Regions from separate parts of the Homo sapiens genome. Here all the other regions are linked to region 1. The links are contacts of gene promoters, found by promoter capture Hi-C in blood cells and fetal thymus (Javierre and others, 2016). All regions are on one chromosome and are shown on one strand. Each heading gives the region's core, a stretch centred on a gene start or on the middle of the fragment in contact. The rest is flanking DNA. Distances are from core to core; before and after follow the strand shown.

Region 1 (3,368 bases), core at 1-2,500:
AATGGCACGATCTCACTTCACTGCAACCTCCGCCTCCCAGGTTCAAGCGATTCTCCTGCCTCAGCCTCCCGAGTAGCTGGGATTACAGGCTCCCGCCACCATGCCTGGCTAATTTTTGTATTTTTAGTAGAGACGCTGTTGGCCAGCCTGATCTGGAACTCCTGACCTCAGGTGATCCACCTGCCTCAGCCTCCCAAAGCGCTGGGATTACACGAATGAGCCACCGCACCCAGCTAAAGATTTTCTTGAAAGCCTGTCTAGATCCTGAAGAACTAATCCCCTTATCTCCCTCCCTCAGTATGATGAAGAGATTTATGAGCATCATTTGAAGACACATTCATATTATGTTTCTTTCAAAGGGGTATGAGCTCCTAGAATAAGAAGAGGCACTGGGCCAAGGAGCATGGCTGGGCTCCAGTTCCCAGGTCTGATTCAGTGTGATCTTTGTCATTTCCTTTTCTATGTCACAGTTTCCTCATCTGTAAACTGAAAGTTGGGCCTGATTTTTTTCATTTTTTCTCTTTTATGCATGTGCCAATTTGTTTCCCACAGAATACTGACATCTTTATAAGCTCTCAAGAAAGACATTATAAAAACAAATTTCAGATATACTTTGAACATAGGCTTCATTATACGACATATACCTCTTTCTGTTTGGATTTTACTGTCCACTTAATATAAAAACCTGTATTAATCACTAAGGAAAAGGATAGAGGAGACTTAGAAATATCTCCAGAATAATTTTGCAACAATTCCAAGATTCTCTGCACTTCTTTTTCTGTCCCTTAATTGGCCTCCTCCACATTTTCCAACTATGGAGGTATTGCTCTACTCTCTTCGACTTTACATTGTTTTAGAATGCTTTTGCAAGGAGACTCTGCCTTGAATGAACCCAAGATATGGTGCAATGTTGAGGAAGATCTCCAAGTTTACACATGCCTGTACGATGGCCCAAAGGTCATCATCAGGTGAAAGGGACGACCTTAGAGATGAAAGAAGTTCAAGGAATGGTGCTACATTAAATGACTTAGCATTAGAAAGCATCTACTTTGCTTTTTCTTTCACCAACCCTGAAAGCCAAATAAGGCACTGGGCATTCAGGCCTTCTTTTGAGCAGAACACGTGATTACGCAGTTATTCTTCAAGAGCCTCTGTTAATCTGTCGCTTGGAGAACTCTGCATACTGTCCCAAATCCGTCTGAATTTTCCATCGGCTGCCAGTGTTCGTAGCAGAGGCCTCGGGTCTTCTCGTCCTCTCCTCAGGGTCTGGCAGCTGTCACTACCGTGGACTTCGGTCCAGTCCCCAGAGTCGGGGGCGCTGCCTTTCCCATTTCAGTTGCCAGGGGGTTCATCCACGATCGTGCCAGAGGGGCAGCGCGTGGTCTCCTCGAACTACGGGGGAGAGAGGAACCACTGTTGGCACGGGCCGGACTGAACGCCGGCTCCCACTGCCTACCTCCTCGGAGCTGCATCCGCCGACATCTTGCGCCCTACTCCCAGCACCAGCAGGGCACTTCCGGGAAGAACGGAATTGCGGTTCCGCGCGTGCGCACTCCGCAGCCACCGCCTCCCGCGAGGAGCGAGAGTCCCGCGGCCCCGCCCCGCCGCCGCAGCCGCCGCCGCAGCCGAAGGCCGGCGTTTCTGACCTCAGCCAGCGGCGACGCAGCCGGGAAAGAACTGTCGAGGGCGTCTCCGTAGTTCAGTTTTGGTTTGTTTATTTGAGACGGAGTCTCTGTCGCCCAGGCTGGAATGCAGTGGCGCGGTCTCTGCTGACTGCAGCCTCCGCCTGCCGAATTCAAGCGATTCTTCTGCGACTGAATAGCTGGGACTACAGGGGCGCGCCACGACGCCCGGCTAATTTTTGTATTTTTAGTGGAGACGGAGTTTCACCATGTTGGTCAGGCTGGTCTCGAACTCCTGACCTCGTGATCCGCCCGCCTCGGCCTCCCAAAGTGCTGGGATTACAGGCGTGAGCCACCACGCCTGGCCCACCCCACTCGGTTTTTAAGGAGATAATTACAAGGTTATTTTACGGTTCATAGTGTGTTTCAGACCTCCCAGAAGCCTAACGGTGTATTATAAACCATTCTTTTCTTTGTTTTTAAATGCATTAAAAACCTTTTTTGAGATAAAAATAGTGCAAGTACATGGTTTAAAAAAAGAAAATCAGATTGCACCAAAAGGTTTATGATGAAAAACAATAATGTTCTGTCCCTTTGCCTCCAAGAGACTCCTTTTTAAAATCTTTTGGGCTGGGCGCGGTGGCTCACGCCTGTAATCCCAACACTTTGGGAGGGTGAGGCGGGCGGATCATCTGAGGTCAGGAGTTTGAGATCAGTCTGGCCAACATGGTGAAACCCCGTCCCTACCAAAAATACAAAAAGTAGCCGGGCGTGGTGGTGGGCGCCTGTAGTCTCAGCTACTTGGGAGGCTGAGGCAGGAGAATCGTTTGAACCGGCGAGGCAGAGGCTGCAGTGAGCTGAGACCGCGCCACTGCACTCCAGCCTAGGCAACAGGAGCAAAATTCTGTCTCAAAAAAAAAAAAAACTTTTATACCTTCTAGTAGTTGTCTCCATTAGGTTTGATTTGGAACATGCTTTCCAGCTACAGGGTTCTTAAGATCATACTTGCTTTTCCTGAGCTGCATCATCTTCAGCTTCCATTATACAGGCTGACGAGGCTCAGTAGCACGGCAGGGCCACTGGCGTATTGAGAAATGGATGGTCACCGTCTTCGCATCCGAGGGTTGTGTGGCGTGCCTCGCGCCAGGAACTCCTTGGCCACTCCGCAGTTTCCTAGCTAGAACCCGGCTTCTGAGCCCAGCACGCTCCAACAGCAGCCTGCCGCGGTCCACGCCTCTGCTCCGGACTTGACCTTTCCCTTCCGGCCTTCCTCCTACAGGTGTCTTGGCACCTGGAATCTCCAGAGGAAATCTGAGGGATTCTCTAAACCCACAGCTGGAACAAGGGACGTCATACACGGCGGCCACCACCATCTTTCCCAAGGACAGCATGGCCATGGATGAAAAGGGCCATTTCATGGGCCTTACCTTCTGCTAGCCAGTATAGCCTAAAGCCCTGATACTCAAATGTAGACTCTTAGGCTCCACCCGGAGGATTCCCTAGGTCTGGGCAGGGCTTGGGAAGCTTAGCAGGCTCCTCAGGTGATTCTGCTACAGATGGTCCAGGACCAGTCTCTGAAAAACACTGTCCTCGGGAAATTGCTTTTATGTATTTACTTTTTCCATCTCTTCTTGGTATTTTGTTATCATTTTCAAATACAGAGACGGAGTCTCACTATGATGCCCAGGCTGGTTCCGAACTCCTGGGCTCCAGAGATCCTCCTGCCTTGGTCCCCCAAAGTACTGG
Region 2 (3,368 bases), core at 526-3,025, 960 kb before region 1:
CTCAAAACAGTTCAAAGAGGAGCAACTTGAAATGACCCAGTGGTAATTTAGTTGCTCTTGCATACGCTAAAGATACACATGTAAAAAGTTGTTGACCTGAGCATTGTATGTAATATTTATAATATAATTGGAAACGACCGGAAGTCCATTAGTAAGAGCTGGTGAAATATTAATTACGGTACGTTTGTATAATGGAACAATATACTAGCCTTTAAAAAAAGAAAGGTAGGCGTTTATGCACGGAGAAAATGTTGCAGTACAGTATCTGTAGTGGGTTAGAAGTGCACGGGGGCTTGGGCGTTGCAAGATACTAAAAATAGAAGGACTCTACTTTCTGAAAATAAGGCTTAAGAAAAGTTACCATTGAAATTGGTAGTCAGAAGCTAAAATGAGGATGTTTGTGAAATCTCAGAATATAGGAACCTAGGGCATTCCTGGATAAAGGATCTTATTTAGGACCATAAAAGGAACTACTGCTTGGTGGTGGTAAATTTTAGGGATTTGTGTTACCTTGAAGGAAATATTGAGTAGGTTCATAGGTTAGAATCGTGGCCTTTTGGGGCTGGAAAGGACCTTAGTTTTTGTCTAGCAACTCCCACGCTCATGGATGCTTGAATCTTACATTCTCTCACACACAATTTTCCAACTTCTTTGGGCTAAGCCACGTTAAATGGAGTGCTGGGGGAGTGTGATGTGTAGGTCATGGAATTAAGAAGACAGAATTTCACCAGAACATAACTGAAGCAGGAGAACCAAGTTAGTTAAAAGATAAATAACATCCAGGCGTGGTGGCTCACGCCTGTAATCTCAGCACTTGGAGAGGCCAAGGTGGGAGGATTGCTTGATCCCAGGAGTTTGAGACCAGCCTGGGCAACATAATGAGACCTCATCTCTTAAAAAAAAAAAAAAAAAAAAAAAGGAAAGAAAAGAAAAGGAATTAAAAGATAAGTAACGTAACTACAGAAGGCTCAAATGTAGCTTCAGGGTTTTCAGCAGCAGGAATGTGGTCCTTACTGGCATTTATGTTATTTAGCTGTTCTCCAGTGTGAGTTTCTTTTGGTCCATTTACCAAGTGAGTTACTCTTTATCTCTGCTTCTTTAGTTTCTGTTTATTCTTAACTTGGATCTGCTGTAATTTCCCGTGGGCCCAATCTATGGATTGGCCTCTTTCTTTCTGTAATTGGTTGGGATTTACATTCAGGTCTTTCTGCCTCAAAAGCCACTATACTAGACTGACTCAACTGCATAGGGCTGCCTCTTCTGTAGTATCTGTGGCAGGGTAGATTCACTTAAAAGGGACTGACCTGTCGAGTTAGAGTTACAGTCCTGTCTTTAAAGAGAACTATCAAACCCTAATTCATTGAAGTTCATGATGTTTGGTTCCAAGTGGTAAAAAGGATGGGTTTTTTAATGATCCTTGTTATGTGACTGTAAAGCAAATAAACTAATTCTACTAGTAATACAATATAGTCTTAGTCTGTTTTCTGTTGGTCATAACAGAATGTCTGAAATGATAATTTATAAGAAACTGAATTTATTTCTTACGGTTCTGGAGGCTTGGAAGTCCAGGGTCTTAAGGGTGCATCTGGTGAGAGCGTTTTTGCTGGTGGGGACTCTGTGGAGTTCCAAGGTGGTGCAGGGCATCACATGGCAAGGAAGCTGAGCGTGCCAGCTCAGGTCTCTCTTCCTCTTCTTATAAAGCCACCAGAACCACTCACTTGATAACCCATTAATCCGTGAATAGATTAATCCATTCATCAGAGCAGAGCCCTCATGACCCAGTCACCTTTTAAAAGCTGTGCCTCTCCACACTGCCACATTGGAGATCAAGTTTCAACGTGAGTTTCAGAGAGGACAAACGTTCAAACCATACCAAATATACATTATTATTTGTCACAAGTCATGCAAACTTTATGAGATCCTCTTTGAACAGAAACAATAAATATACAGTTGGCCCCCTCCACAAATTCAGCCAATACCAAATAGCCCTTTACACTTGGGAGCCATTTTACACACCAGATTCACCAACAAAAATGCAGGAAAGGACCCTAAATAGGCCACGAAAAGGACACTTGTTTACAGTACAAGAGCTGAAACAAGAAAGCAGAGCGTCGCCTTGTTTGACCCCATCTGGGAACATGCTACCTCGGCTGTGAACGGTGCACTGGGCAACTCAGAATCTGCCCTGCTCTGTGGCTGTCTGTGAGCAACTGCTAACGGACCTCAAATGCTAGTTTTGGGATTACACATTTTAGCAAGTAGGTAAACTTGCAAAGAAAGAATCAGAGAATAATGAGAATGAACCCTACCTTTTATAGGTGTCTTCGTTGTGTAAAATGCGATGATAGTTTGACTCCTACCCATCCCCCAGTTGTGAGAGGATGTTATTTTACGTAAATATTACCAAGGAATTTTTAAAAATAGAATTCAAACATACTTCAGATATATGTCTGTAATTCATATATGGATGTACTACTATCATTAGATAATTCTCAAAACTCAATGTCCACTTAAAGTGAGGTTTATATAAAGCCATATTCAGATAGTCTAGCATTTCTATTTTTTTATCCAATTGTCAGGACCGATCAAACCATCATTGAGGGGGGTTTTATTTTTTTAGATGACTCAGTGCTGTTATTTTCTTATTGTTTATACTTTGCATTAGTGCTTACGTCTTTTTTTGTTTATTTTTGAGACAAGATCTCATTCTGCCACCTGGGCTGGAGTACGGTGGCACGATCACAGCGCACTGCAGCCTCCATCTCCTGCTCTCAAATGATTGTCCCACCTCAGGCCACCACACCCAGCTAATTTTTGTATTTTTTGTAGAGATGGGGTTTTAGTATATTGCTCAGGCTGGTCTCAAACTCCTGGGCTCAAGTGATCTGCCTGCCTCCCAGAGTGCTGGGATTACAGGTGAGAGCCACCATGCCCCACCAGTACTTATGTCTTTAATGAGTGGTTTCTACAGGTACCATTTGTCAGATACCAATTTTTGAGGGTTAAATTAAAACTGGATAGAATCCATAAATCCACATAACTAAGTATAGATAAATCTCAGTACATTGCACCACAGCATTCAGCTGTTTTAAACACCACTGTCATCTTCGATCATTGTGGACTTCCCATTCTTTCAGGATACCTTGAATATAGGGCACAACTTATGAAGGTCTAATTTAGCAGGCCTAGTGAGTACATATGTGTATCTTAATGAAAAGAAGACACTGTTGATTCTAAGATGTACTATCCAGGAAGAAAAAATACTGCCAGCTATGATTATAAGATGCCATCCTTTTAAGACATGTTCTTTTTCAGAGATGTGAAAATGTAAAAAATGTGTTTTGGGAATTATTGAAAATATGACAGTA
Region 3 (3,368 bases), core at 641-3,140, 670 kb before region 1:
CTTCAGCTGGAGTGTGGTGGACAGAGTCCTGCCCAGATGTTATTGATCCTGAGTTCTGGGTCTTCCTCTGACCCTGGCTTCTGTTAGCAAGGCCTTCTGATGTCTTTGCCTCAGTTTCTCATCATAAGAGGAGTGGGGACGCTCCGGCTCTGAGTAACAGTCTGTTCTCTTCCAGGCGTGTATAAACAGTGCTGGGGGCTTACAGAGCTCATGCCCTTTCCAGACCCCATCCTGAATGTGCGGGTGAGAAGTTGCGGGGTGTGAGGAGGCTGCTCTTCCCCTCTTTCTGGGATAATCCCTGGAATGACCCTAGGTGAGGCTTCCGTGCTGACTTCCCTTCCGTCCTCTGGGAGGTACTGGTTCGTTTCTCGGGCCCTGCCCTGTGCAGGGCCGCACCTCAGGCCTGCGCGGAGCATGAGGGCGAGGGACTTGGAATGACCAGAGCTGTCTCAGGTTTATCGTCACCGTCAATGAGCCACAGTTGCCACCATCGCAGGAGACCCTGGGTGGCAGGCACCATGCTGGATCCTGCTTTTCCTCCCTCATTTAACCTTGGAGCAGCCAGGCCTGTGAGGGGTAGCTAGTCTCCCCTAGGAAGAGGCTGCACAGATGAGCTTGCTCGGAGCCATGATTGGAGTCCGGCTTGCTGATTCTTCAGCACTCTGCCCGATGCCTGTTGATTTTGGCGGTTTGTTCTTGTCCCTCCAAAGCCAGGAATGCTCTGTGAGAGCTGGGGCCCCACCAGAAGGGTTCCCACGGTGCCCCTGTGCCTGCTGCTGGCTGGGTGGCCTCTTCCCCTGGTCAGCTGGGTGGCACAGAACAGGGGAATCCCAGGGCTGCCCGGGGTGGACCTTCCCTCCCTCCTCCAGGAGCTGCCCATAGAACAGCAGGGAGCCTCTTTCTAGGAGGTGGGATTTACAGGCTGAGATGTTGGAGCCCCACCTCCCTCATTTAGCTGCAGAAGAGGTCTGGGTTGGAGGGAGTCCAGACTCTGGTCCTGGAGTTGAGTCTATTCATGTTATCCATGAGAAAACGGGGGCCCAGAGAGGCCAAGCAACTTGCTCAGGGCCACACAGCTGCTCAGTGGACAAGGGAGACTGGGAGCAGCTCTCCTGTGCCCTCTCTGGTTCCCTGCACTCATGGTCTCCCTGCCTGCCTTCCCTTGTGTTCGGAAGCCAGTTCTACGCTGTGCTTGCTCTGTGCGCCGGTTTGTCTTCTGTTTTGGTTTCTAGCCTGACACAGCTTTTGGATCTCACCCACTTGTGACTCCCTGCAGTCGTCTGTGTTTTGTGGACAATGAAAGGCTTTGCTCCACGTCCACTGATCGGCTGCTCCAGAAGGAAGCTTTGCAGCCTCCTCAGCTGCAGGCCCAGAGTCATGGCTCCCTCCAACCCATTGCCTGGCCCTGCTCAGCCCACTTGGATGGAGCTGAGTCCCCAGCCCGACTGGGTCCTGCTGGGGGCTGAGCTCGTGGGTGCGAGCCGTGTGGGGTAGGGAACCCCGCTGCTGTCTCCCACCTGGCTCTGCACTCCTGCAGCCCCAGTCCTGCCGTGACTGTCACAGGGATCTCCAGGCCTGGTCGGCGGCTCCCTGTTGTGCGAGCATGGTACTCGGAAACCGCCTTTTCTGCTGGTTTAGTCCGACTGAAGCTCCTTGCTGAGGGACTGCATTCCCTCTGCAAACCTATGGCCTTATGGGTCTTTCTGATGCTGCTGTTATCCCCTGCTCTGTCCGCAGTGCTGGTGAATTTCCCAGCCTGGGGCAGTTGGGGACAGGGTCCGAGTCTGACTTCTTTCTCTTTCCTGTGCAGCGGGTGTGGGAATGGGCGTGTGTCTCTTGAATGAGTATGGTGTTGGCTACAGATGGGCCGCTTTAGATCCTGGCTCTACCTCATCTTTCTGGGAGGTGGGGGGTAGTTGTTTACATTCTCTGAACCACCTCCTCTCTGTAGCAGGGGCCCAGTCCTATCACCTGCCCCAAAACATTGGTGTGAGGGCGACGTTAAGTGACTGAATGTGCACAGCGCAGCTGTTTGTGCTTGACGCGTGCTAGGTGGACCCTTAGGCACTGCCCTGGCCCCGTGAAGGCCCTGCAGGTCTGTGTCCCACCCTTGGTGGCTGTGCCCAGCTTTAGCATGCCACCTCATGGTCCTGCTCAGTGGCTCACCTGCTCACCCTGTGTCAGGTCCCAGCCTGGCGCAGGTGGCTGCCCCTGAATCTGGGCCTTGCGAGCCTGTTGCCTGGATGCCCAGGTTCCAGATGCTTCACCTTGGGAAACAAAAGAGCAGTTTTGGCACAGAGATCCCGCAGCCTACAGACTTAATTATGCCCCGTGGACGTGCTGAGCAAGAGTGAGAGGGTGACTGAGCCTGCAGAGGGCTCTGTGTGATGCCATGTGGCCCCCAGTTTCCTCACAGGGGAAAAGGAACAAGCTTCCGGCTCAGGGAATGGCTTCCCAGGAGCAGATGGTACTTTGAAAATCACCTCGTCAGGCTTCGAGCCTGCGTCCTGTGGTTGGGAGGGTGAGGGGCGTGTTGTTTCTGCTGCTGACCCCAGTTTCAGGGCAAATTTAACCTGTGGTCAGTGCAGGGTGGGGCTTTGGTCCCAGGCCCTGGGGCTGAGGCCCTGGAGAACCTGCCAGGCCTGGGCAGTCACTGCTGACGTCTGTGGCCAGAGTCTCCAAGCGCTGAGGGCCCCCTGGGGCCTGATTTATGGGGGTCTTTGGGGGACTTGTTCCAGCCTGGAAATGTGAGAGGGAAATCTCCCCACCCCAGTGGGGGTGCCCCCTGGTGCACAGCTGGGCAGTGGGCACCCCCGTGACTTGTCCGAGAGCACCGTTTCCCTCTGGTGTTACCCTTTAAAACTCACTTGAGGGAAGAGTGATTGGCTACATAGTTGAATTTGCTGAGCAGCGTTTGCAGAGGATGTAAACTGCCAGGTAGGCTGGCCCTGCTTACTGGTCTCTTCTTTGGGCTCACTGAGTGACTGAGTGGCTTTCGCTTTGATCAGAAATGTGAACAGGCCGGGCGCGGTGGCTCACGCCTGTAATCCTAGAACTTTGGGAGGCCGAGGCGGGCGGATCACCTGAGGTCAGGAGTTCGAGACCAGCCTGGCCAACATAGTGAAACCCCGTCTCTACTAAAAATACAAAAATTGGCCAGGCGTGGTGGTGGGCACCTGTAGTCCCAGCTGCTCGAGAGGCTGAGGCAGGAGAATTGCCTGAACCCAGGAGGCGGAGGTTGCAGTGAACCAAAATCACAACACTGCACTCCAGCCTGGGAGACAAAACTCCTTCTCAAAAAAAAAAAAAAAAAAGAAAAAAAAAGAAATGTGAGCAGTTGAAGATTTTAGAACTGATGTGGCTCTCAG
Region 4 (3,368 bases), core at 499-2,998, 530 kb before region 1:
AAATTAAATCTTATTCTCCCAAGCGTCCCAGGGTAAGGGTGAGGGAGAGAGCAGGAAATAGAGTTGCAAGCCGGTGAGAGCTGATAAGTTGTCCTGTGGATTGGTTCTACTGTCTCTCTCTTGTGTTTCCTGGGCCAAGTTCCCTCCCTTCTTGCTGATGTGCACTTGGCAGTGCACCTGTAAATAGTTTGGATCTTGACTGATGTTTCTGAAGCTTCAAGTCTCACTACTCAAAGTGTAGTTCATGGACCAGAAACAGAATCTCAGACCCCACCCCAGACCTACTGACTCAGAATCTACATTTTAACGAGATCCCCAGATAATTCACAGAAACATTAAAATTGGAGAAGCATTGGCTTAAAGCATTCTGGTTAGAATTTGTGAGGGGAAACAGACACGCTTAGAACTTACTTGCCCAGAAATGTTGCTGCAGTTGAGAATGTTTTAGATGTGTCAGTAGATCCAGCATGGTGCAGATTCCACCGCTCGTGGTGGCATGCCTTCTTTCTCTTGCTCTTGAGATCTCATAGTGCATGTCACCTACCAGAACACAGCGCCCCTCTGCCTTGGGTGACAGGAAAGCTCAACACACCCCAATCCAGCTGCTTCTCCCTGTCGCTGAGTCTTATAGGCCCATCAAGTCCACGTAAACAACCTGTTTTAGATAGCCCGACTCCGTTTGTGGCAAATAGTGCATGCTTCAGCTGCCTGACTTGAGTTTCCTGCCATCTCCTGAGCGGCCCAGCTCCTTATCACTGTCCCTGTCACCTGTCCTCGGTCTTTGTCTCCTGAGCCTGAGGACAGCCTCAGCGCCTCCAGTTTTCATACAGAGCTGCCCCCATCAGACCCTCTCGCCCTCTGACAAAGCACTGTTAGTTACTCTCTAGATAACCGAGGTCCGGTCCTGGCCTGCACCTGCCGCCCTCCTTCCTCCACCTCGGACGTGAACACCTCAGCTCAAAGGTGAGAGCGCACACGGTGTGCTGCCGGAGCCAGACGAGGGGGTTACTGCTCCGCACCAGATGAAGGGAGTCGTCCTGTAAATAGCTGTGCTTTCCAAACCACTTCCACTGTGGCTCCTGAGGCCTTCACGCGTGCTCGGTTTGCCAGGCAGGGTTTATCAACCAGGGATCGCGTAGGAAGCAGAAACCACTCCAGGTGGTGTAAGCAGAAGGAGTTTCTTGTTGGAATTAGGTGCTTACAACATTGTTGGAGGGGCTCAAGGGGCAGGTTTCCGGCTGGGCCTTTTGAAGGACTCCTGGCTAGTTCAGAAGCAGCTGTTGCCAGCCCACAGCCATTCCTGGACTCTCTAGGAGGCTGAAGGATGAACAGTCTAAGTTGAGGTCTGAGGATTATGGAGTTTGGACAGAAATCACCACCACTGCCCTGCTTTTCTGGTACTCAGGAAGCGGCAGCACGACCTGGGTTCAAGGTGACTGGGACCGTCTAACCAGCAGTGACAGCCAGAAGCCACATTCTCACCGGGCACGTCTCATGTGAGCACACTAGTTCCCGAGTCGCAGCACCTGATTCACGTCCCGAGCTCTCGCCGTTTGGGCATCTGGGAAGCTTAGTTTCCCTCGTTCCAACCTCTCAATAGGAGGAGGATCAACGGGAGGTTTGGGAGGAGCCAACTGTGCAACCTCAGCTAGGTACGATTTTGACGAGTGGAACGGGTGGGGCCTGCGGCATTCACACTCCCAAGCTCAGCCTCCACCCAGGAGTGACTGCGCCCAGGCCGACCCCGGTGTCTTCCCACACTTGGCGTTAGCACCTTCTGCAGGTGGCAGCCTCCTTGCACCGGCAGGGAGACCACTGAGCGGCTTCACTCCTCCCTGGTTTTCTAAGCCTGTAAGACTGCTACCTTCCTGCGTGCTCCAAAAGCGATTGCTTTTTCACTTAGTTTCGTCTGATTGACGAAAGCTTGTCACAAGCTTGACAGAGGTTCAGGGAATGTGGGCAAAGCCGCGCTGCCTTCTACATCAAGTGCTGTTCATTTGGGTCATTAGGATTTCATGTCTGGTCCTGGTCTTCGTAATTAAACGTGTAAAGAGATGTCCTCCCAGCACTGTCATGAGCAGGAACTTTTTAGTAGAAATGTACTTGTTGATGACATGGTTGTATAATGTGATTGTGGGTGTAGGGGGACAGATGTGTTTCAAGTGCTAGAGAAATGACAATGATTTGGGTCTCATGGGACCCAGGCACAGGACCGTACACAGAGCAGGTGCTCAAAATGGCTTATTTAGTACATGGAGTGAAATGAAAAGAAGCTCAACGCAGGTGGAAGGTGATGCTCCGTGTCTCCCGGCTCTCCAGGCAGTAGTCATTCCTTGGCCCCTCAGATCCTCCATTTTGGGTGCAATGGTGTGGCTGTACTTTGTGGAGAAACAAATTTGGGCAGCTGAGTTCAGGGCTTCACGTGGAGGAGCGAGAAGGGGGCCACCCAATGCAGCTTTCCCTGGAAGCGTGTGGACTGGGGCACAGTTGTTGCAGGATGATTGGCTGCCACCATAAGTGGGCAAAATCATGGGCAGATCATCCTGCTTCCTTAATTGAATCTTGGAATGCATTCAGAATCTTCAACCCAGGGGTCTGGCACTCAAGGCGTTTGTGACCTGGCACTGACTCAGTACGCTCTAGCCAAATTGGGCACTCATGGCTCCCAGATGCTGTGCCAAGCTTTCACCTGCTTATCTTTGCTTGCACTGTTCCTGCCACCTGGAGGGACTTCTCTTCACCCATCTCTACCTTGAGAAATCCTCTCTGTCATTCATGGCCAACTCAGACACCCCTTCTTCATAGCATTCTTTGCCCGCCGGCCTCAGGAGCACCCTCTGGCACTATCAGAATGCCCAGGGCTCCTTTCCACCCTTTTCTCCTGGCCACAACCCTTTCTCCTGGCCACACCCCTTTCCGCCTCTTTGCCTGGTCCTGTGGGTGCTGTGCAGGCTCCCTCAGCCAAGCTCGGCATTCCCAGGCCTGGCTCCGAGTAGGTGTTTGTGGAATGAATGGCTAAAAAGTAAAGCAAAAAGCTCATGAAACAGAGGGGAAATCCAAAACTGATTAAAGAGAAAAAGGATTCTAACAAAAAAGACCGTGAGTGCTGGGTTCACACTGCCTGGGTTCAGGTCCTGGCTCCACTATTTAATAGCCCTGTGACCTTGGACAAACCAGTAAACCGCTTTGTGCCTCAGTTTCCCCCTATGTTAAGGATAAGCGTACTACCTAATCAGGGATGTTCTGAGAATTAAGATTCTTGAAAACATGTCAGCTTCTTGGAACGGTGCCTGCCTCGTAGTAAGTGTTAATATACGTTAGTGCACCACTCCCCTCCCAAGCTTTCCCAACTCCCTGGCTTGTCGAAG

The links. The method cuts DNA at HindIII sites, captures the fragments that hold promoters and counts their contacts. A CHiCAGO score of 5 or more calls a contact.
Region 2: a fragment that was not itself captured here is called in contact with the fragment with the promoter of TMEM44-AS1 in region 1 in 1 of 17 cell types (neutrophils); the score reaches 10.2 in neutrophils.
Region 3: a contact is called between a fragment that was not itself captured here and the fragment with the promoter of TMEM44-AS1 in region 1, in 2 of 17 cell types (neutrophils and total CD8 T cells). The highest score is 9.1, in neutrophils.
Region 4: a contact is called between a fragment that was not itself captured here and the fragment with the promoter of TMEM44-AS1 in region 1, in 1 of 17 cell types (neutrophils). The highest score is 5.1, in neutrophils.

The regions. Positions count from the first base shown.
Region 1 is chr3:194,582,150-194,585,517 of GRCh38, reverse strand. TMEM44-AS1 (TMEM44 antisense RNA 1) reads right to left here and starts at 1,250. Exons shown (of 3, transcript NR_047575.1): 1 at 1,070-1,250. RefSeq lists enhancers at 1,234-1,283, 1,319-1,984 and a silencer at 1,474-1,733. The HindIII fragment of the contact is 5,912 bases long and covers 1-3,148 here.
Region 2 is chr3:195,539,006-195,542,373 of GRCh38, reverse strand. All of the region lies in intron 1 of PPP1R2 (protein phosphatase 1 regulatory inhibitor subunit 2), which reads left to right. Among named protein-coding and RNA genes, the nearest start is that of PPP1R2, 2.6 kb to the left of the region's middle. RefSeq lists an enhancer at 1,971-2,080. The HindIII fragment of the contact is 4,001 bases long and covers 1-3,368 here.
Region 3 is chr3:195,253,450-195,256,817 of GRCh38, reverse strand. All of the region lies in intron 1 of XXYLT1 (xyloside xylosyltransferase 1), which reads left to right. Among named protein-coding and RNA genes, the nearest start is that of XXYLT1, 16 kb to the left of the region's middle. RefSeq lists a silencer at 545-719 and an enhancer at 2,477-3,264. The HindIII fragment of the contact is 1,087 bases long and covers 1,347-2,433 here.
Region 4 is chr3:195,113,306-195,116,673 of GRCh38, reverse strand. The region is part of intron 3 of XXYLT1 (xyloside xylosyltransferase 1); the gene reads left to right. Among named protein-coding and RNA genes, the nearest start is that of MIR3137, 20 kb to the left of the region's middle. The HindIII fragment of the contact is 354 bases long and covers 1,572-1,925 here.